2 separate regions of the Homo sapiens genome follow, and region 2 is linked to region 1. Evidence: promoter capture Hi-C in 16 types of primary human blood cells and fetal thymus (Javierre and others, 2016). All regions are on one chromosome and are shown on one strand. The core of a region is centred on a gene start or on the middle of the fragment in contact, and the rest is flanking DNA. Distances in the headings are between cores, read along the strand shown.

The links. Contacts are between HindIII fragments. The CHiCAGO score rates a contact against its expected background, and 5 or more counts as called.
Region 2: a contact is called between a fragment that was not itself captured here and the fragment with the promoter of TM4SF19 in region 1, in 1 of 17 cell types (M2 macrophages). The highest score is 5.3, in M2 macrophages.

What each region holds. Positions count from the first base shown.
Region 1 is chr3:196,336,791-196,339,844 of GRCh38, forward strand. It overlaps TM4SF19 (transmembrane 4 L six family member 19), which reads right to left and starts at 1,598. Exons shown (of 5, transcript NM_138461.4): 1 at 1,474-1,598. It overlaps TM4SF19-DYNLT2B (TM4SF19-DYNLT2B readthrough (NMD candidate)), which reads right to left and starts at 1,630. Exons shown (of 6, transcript NR_037950.1): 1 at 1,474-1,630. RefSeq lists enhancers at 1,122-2,321, 1,688-1,982 and a silencer at 1,731-1,902. The HindIII fragment of the contact is 5,119 bases long and covers 1,227-3,054 here.
Region 2 is chr3:196,467,938-196,470,991 of GRCh38, forward strand. It overlaps RNF168 (ring finger protein 168), which reads right to left. Exons shown (of 6, transcript NM_152617.4): 6 at 846-3,054. Among named protein-coding and RNA genes, the nearest start is that of RNF168, 34 kb to the right of the region's middle. RefSeq lists a silencer at 2,270-2,446. The HindIII fragment of the contact is 4,437 bases long and covers 1-3,054 here.

The sequences.
Region 1 (3,054 bases), core at 348-2,847:
ATCGGCTAGATGTCCAGGCAACAACAGAAGTGATCGGCTCAATTCCATGGAGGAAGAGACCGCACATTCTCTACATCTGTGTCTCTCCCTCGCCACCCAGCAAGGCTTTTCTTTCATTCTTCCTTCAGTCGGATATTTATTAAGTGATCACTACCTGACAGACACTTGGGGGGCTAGGGATATAACGATGAAAAAGATGTAATCCCTTTCCTTGAGGAGCTTAAAGTCTAGTGGGGACACTGCTGACGCAAAAAGCAATTCTTTTTTTTTTTTTTTTTTTTTTTTTTTGAGACACAGTCTCGCTCTTGTTGCCCAGGCTGGAGTGCAGCGGCATGCTCTTGGCTCACTGCAACCTCCGCCTCTCGGGTTCAAGTTATTCTCCTGCCTCAGCCTCCCAAGTAGCTGGAATTACAGGCATGCACCACGCCCGGCTAATTTTGTATTTTTAGTAGTGATGGGTTTTCGCCATGTGGGTCAGGCTGGCCAAAAAGTAATTCTAATCAAGTGTGGTAAGAAATAGAGCAGACATGAGCAGGGCGGGAGAGGGCCTCTACCCCAGTAATGTCAGGTGACTATCAGGTGATGGCCAGGCGGTTGTTACACTGTCTTTCTAAAATAATATTGGTCACAGCCAGCGTTGGGAAAGACAGTCTCCCAATAGATAGAAAATACCTGAACTTGGTGATCAGCAGCTTCCTGGTAAGAGCTCAGGAATTGGGCGAGTGGGCTCAAGCATCTACACTAAGAAGCAAAATGGTGGAGTTTAGCTGGTGTGTGTGACCTTCCTCTAGTGCTGCTCCGCGGGTAAGGGAAAAACGCCTCAAGTGAGCATGCGCACGACTTCAGTAAACACACTGCGCATGCGGCCCCTCCCAAGTGCCTGTGCGGCAGGCAGGCGCCAAGTCAAGGGTCTAACAGCACATTTGGGTGTCTCAAGTCACGCACTTGGCCCTTTTCCAAGTGTACTTTACTTCCTTTCATTGCTGCTCAAAAACTTTTTAATAAACCTTCACTCCTGCTCTCAAACTTGCTTCAGCCTCTCCCTCTGCCTTAAACCCACTTCTGCCCCTCAGCCGAATCTCTCCCCCGAGAAGGCAAGGATTGAGTTTGCTGCAGACTCGCTGGATTCACAGCTGGTAACAGTAAGTACCAGGCAGGGGCATCCAACTTAAGGTGTCATGGAAGCACATGGAGGAACCTAATCCTATCTGGCAGAAGCAAAACGAAGCTTCCCGGAGGAAGGGCTGCCCATGCCCAAACTTGATGGACGATGAGATACTAGGCAGGAAGAGTATTCTAGGTGCAAAGGCCAGAAGTTGACAGACTGAGGCAACAGGAGAAGGTAAGTGAATGGCGCAAAGTCACACAGACGCCAAGCTGCAGAGCCAGGCTCACTGGAGTGGAAGCGTGCACTCTCATCTGTGAGGCTAGGCTGTTCCCTGGCCGTCACCTCACCCTTTCATCTCTGCTTACCTGCATCTGGTGTCAAGAATCAGAATGGGAGAGACAGAACCTGGAGAAAGGCTGCGTCTTCAGAGTGGGGCTCCACTCCTCCAGCTCCAGGGCTGGACCTGAAGGTTGTCTTTCCAGGACTCTTTCCAGGAGGGCCAGGGAGGCTCTGTATATACGTAGAGGTCACCCAGGCGTGTGTGTGTGCGCGCCCCCACGCCCCTGCCCACAGGCCTGCATTGAAGGCGCTTCCGCTCCCCGGAGAGCCCTGTCCTGATGACCCACCCTCTGCTCATTTTCATGTGATTCTAAGGCAGGAAACGGGAGACATGGCCTCATGAGCTCCGCTGTCCTGATGAGTCACTGGATGCACCCGTGAGAAACACCTCACCCTCCGCTCTCCCCAGGCAGCAACACTTGCCACACCCCAGCTGTTCCTGTCCTCATCTGCCACCCCGCGAAGAATTTCGGCTCTTTGACAGAACAGCACCGAGCAGGGCAGCCACCCCTTTTTCCTCATCACTCTCCTTACCTTGCCCTTGGCTGACTCGATGTGTTGCATGGTTCCTGTACTAGACGTCTAACTTTTTTTTTTTTTTTTTTTTGAGACAGGGTCTCACTCTGTCACCCAGGCTGGAGTGCAGTGGCATGATCTCGGCTCACTGCAACCTCCGCCTCCCACACTCAAGCAATCCTCCCACCTCAGCCTCCTGAGTAGCTGGGATTACAGGCACCTGCCACCATGCCCGGCTAATGTTTGTATTTTTAATAGAGACGGGGTTTTGCCATTTTGGCCAGGCTGGTCTCGAACTGCTGACCTCAGGTGTTCGCCTCAGCCTCCCAAAGTGCTGAGATTACAGGTGTGAGCCACCGCACTCAGCCTCTTGTTCAAGCCCCAGGCCACTATCATCTTGTACCATACTCTCACCAAATTGCTGAGGATTTTGTGGTGCTCTCTGTGTGGGAGATCCGTGACCCTCTATGGACAAGCTCCTATTCAAGATTCAGTTCAAACATTCCCAGTGAAGTCTGCCAGGATTTCTTTACTCCGAGTTAGGTACTTCTTTCTCTATGCTCCCATTGCATTTTAAACATCTAGATATTATATACAGTAAAGTGCACAAATCTTTTCTTTTCTTTTTTTTTTTTTTGAGACGGAGTTTCACTCTTGTTCCCAGGCTGGAGTGCAGTGGCACAATCTCAGCTCACTGCAACCTCTGCCTCCTGGCTTCAAGCAATTCTCCTGCCTCAGCCTCCCAAGTAGCTGGGATTACAGGCACGTGCCACCACGCCTGGCTAATTTTGTATTTTTAGTAGAAACACGGTTTCTCCATGTTGGTCAGGCTGGTCTCAAACTCCCGACCTCAGGCGATCCACCCGCCTCCGCCTCCCAAAGTGCTGGGATTACAGGTGTGAGCCAGCACGCCCAGCCTAAAGTGCACAAATCTTAATGTTAAAGTCTGATGAATTTTTACATGTATACCCTGGTGAACCAGCACAGAAATCAAGATACAGGACATTCCAAATCCCCAGAGGTTTCATTGTGTCGCCTGTCATTCGTATCCCTTGTCCCCAGTGTTAACTTTCATTTTGGCTCTTATAATA
Region 2 (3,054 bases), core at 153-2,652, 130 kb after region 1:
CAAAAATTTCTCCTACATGTCATTCTGCATACATGTGAAGACAGCCTTAAGAAATTCCTAGAATAGTCAAACGTACCTCCAGAGATTTTCAATTATCTATTCATACCAAGCAATGTATAAGAATGCCTAGTTCCTCGCAGTCTTGCCAAGATTAAAACAAAACAAAAAATTCCCTTATCTTTGCTAATCTGAAGGATGAACAAACTTATGAGTATTAGCATAAGATTATGCATCTCTTCACCTAATAGTTCAGAACCGGTTATAGTTACTTTCTTGTGAATGATGTTTCTTGGGAACATACGCATTTCTAGTTCTCCTATTGAGGACTTTTCTTTTTTTTCTTTTTTTTTTTTTTTTGAGACGGAGTCTCCAGTCTGTCACCCAGGCTGGAGTGCAGTGGCACAATCTTGGCTCACTGCAACTTCCGCCTCCTGGGTTCAAGCAATTCTCTGTCTCAGCCTCCCGAATAGTTGGGATTACAGGCACACGCCACCACACCCGGCTAATTTTTGTATTTTTAGTAGAGACGGCGTTTCCCCATGTTGGCCAGGCTGGTTTCAAACTCCTGACTTCAGGTGATCTGCCTGCCTCGGCCTCCCAAAGTGCTGGGATTACAGGTGTGAGCCACCATGCACGGCCGAGTTATTGGTCTTTTCTTAATGAACTGGAGGATACTTTACATAAAGGAAATTAGCTCTTTGTGATGAACTGCAACTATTTCTTCCCAAGTTTGCCACAGCTTCCAATTTCCCTTGATGGTAGTTTTTGTTATGCAGAACTTTTAATTTTCATGTAGCTGATTTTTACATATTTTTAAGTTGTGGTAAAATACACATAATAATCCATTTTTATTTTTAGTATTTTATTTTTCAGATTCTCAGCCTCTGCACAGCCTTAGTACTCCCTGAGAAATTCAGTGTTTGCATATCCTTTCCACAAAAATGAGAGGAAAAAGGACCAGTACCTGCTAGTGACTGATACATTTATTAGTTTCTAACAAAAAGGCATACATGGTAGGCAGAGTAGAAATACTAACAGAAATTAGTTTATCTTGAAACCAATTTTAGTCAGGAAGACTTCTTCACAGAGAATGAGCTGAATATATAAATCCCAAATATATCACACCATATATGTGATATATTTACACCTAAATATATCACACCCTCCTTTTTGGTCACAGACTATTCCAGGAAGATTAAATAGATAACGTTTAATTTGAGGCATTCAAGAATGTCCACCCTAAAACTGAAAGTGAAATTGCTCTTAGAGAAAAATTGGTTTGATGAGAAGATTGATCTTAGCCTGTCTCAGACAAATTTGGTTTATTTATTTTTACTTAACGACCCATGTGATAGTATAGTTGCAAGCTATACTTCATTTAACTACAATCATTACTCAGAGGACAATCACCTTAAGAGGCAAATTAAGTTTTAAATTAGCACAGAATTTATAATTACCCAATCAGCATTGACATAGATGCCATCAGGTATGCAAAGATTAACAAAATTCTATTACCAACCTTAGAGGAAAAAAACTTAATGACATACAGAAATACTGGCAAATTTAAGCTAGAATTAGCTCCAGGACATTTTATCTTATTTTCACATTAAAAGAATAGATTACTAGATATCAGCAGAAATGCTGTTAAAGCTATTTTTTACTAATAGTTGTTCATATTAATGAAACAAAAGATCAATAGTCTCTGAGCTAAATTTCACAAAATGAAATCAGTGTCTTCTGATTTAACTTTCAGGAGTAAGAAAGGGCAAAACCCAAGCACCATACTTTCTATTTCTGTTCATAAACTCAAATAAAAGCAGTATCAACACAAATGATCATATAAGAAAACACGTGGTTATGTTTCAGGTTCCACAACATAAGACACTGTGAGGTAACTCTCCTGTAATACATTCCCATTTTTTTCTGGAATAGCAGATGCATAGAAATGCAGGTTTCCAAAAATTCACCCAATTTAGTAACTAATTTTGATTCTGATGCCTGATAGTAGGGTGTGAAAAGCTGTAAAACCCAAATGTTTCCTGTGTTCTTTCACAAGGACAAGGGAAGAGGATGCTCTGCCAAACTGCCCCTGCTGCGTCATAGTGGACCAGTTTCAATGATCCAGACTGTCAGTCACCCCATCCAGCCTCATCCTCATCTGGACCCATTTCTCACCACCCAATCAGTTTCAATGATCCAGACTGTCAGTCACCCCATCCAGCCTCATCCTCATCTGGACCCATTTCTCACCACCCAATCAGTTTCAATGATCCAGACTGTCAGTCACCCCATCCAGCCACATCCTCATCTGGACCAGTTTCTGACCACCCAATCAGTTTCAATGATCCAGACTGTCAGTCACCCCATCCAGCCACATCCTCATCTGGACCAGTTTCTGACCACCCAATCAGTTTCAATGATCCAAACTGTCAGTCACCCCACCCAGCCTCATCTGGACCAGTTTCTGACGACCCAATCAGTTTCAATGATCCAGACTGTCAGTCACCCCATCCAGCCTCATCCTCATCTGGACCCGTTTCTGACCAACCACCCAATCAGTTTCAATGATCCAGACTGTCAGTCACCCCATCCAGCCTCAGCCTCATCCTCATCTGGACCCGTTTCTGACCAACCACCCAATCAGTTTCAATGATCCAGACTGTCAGTCACCCCATCCAGCCTCAGCCTCATCCTCGTCTGGACCCGTTTCTGACGACCTAATCAGTTTCAATGATCCAGACTGTCAGTCACCCCATCCAGCCTCATCTGGACCAGTTTCCGACGACCCAATCTGTTTCAATGATCTGGACTGTCAGTCACCCCATCCAGCCTCATCCCAGCTCTTAACTCCTTCTGCATAGTTCAGTTTCCTTTCTGGCAACTAATTCCCAATTTCCTAGAAAACCCTGATTTTCTGATTTAACACTGATTCGAATCCACTTTAAACCAAAGGAAACAGGCCGGGCGTGGTGGCTCACGCCTATAATCCCAGCACTCTGGGAGGCCGAAGCAGGTGGATCACCTGAGGACAGGAGTTCAAGACCAGCCTGGCCA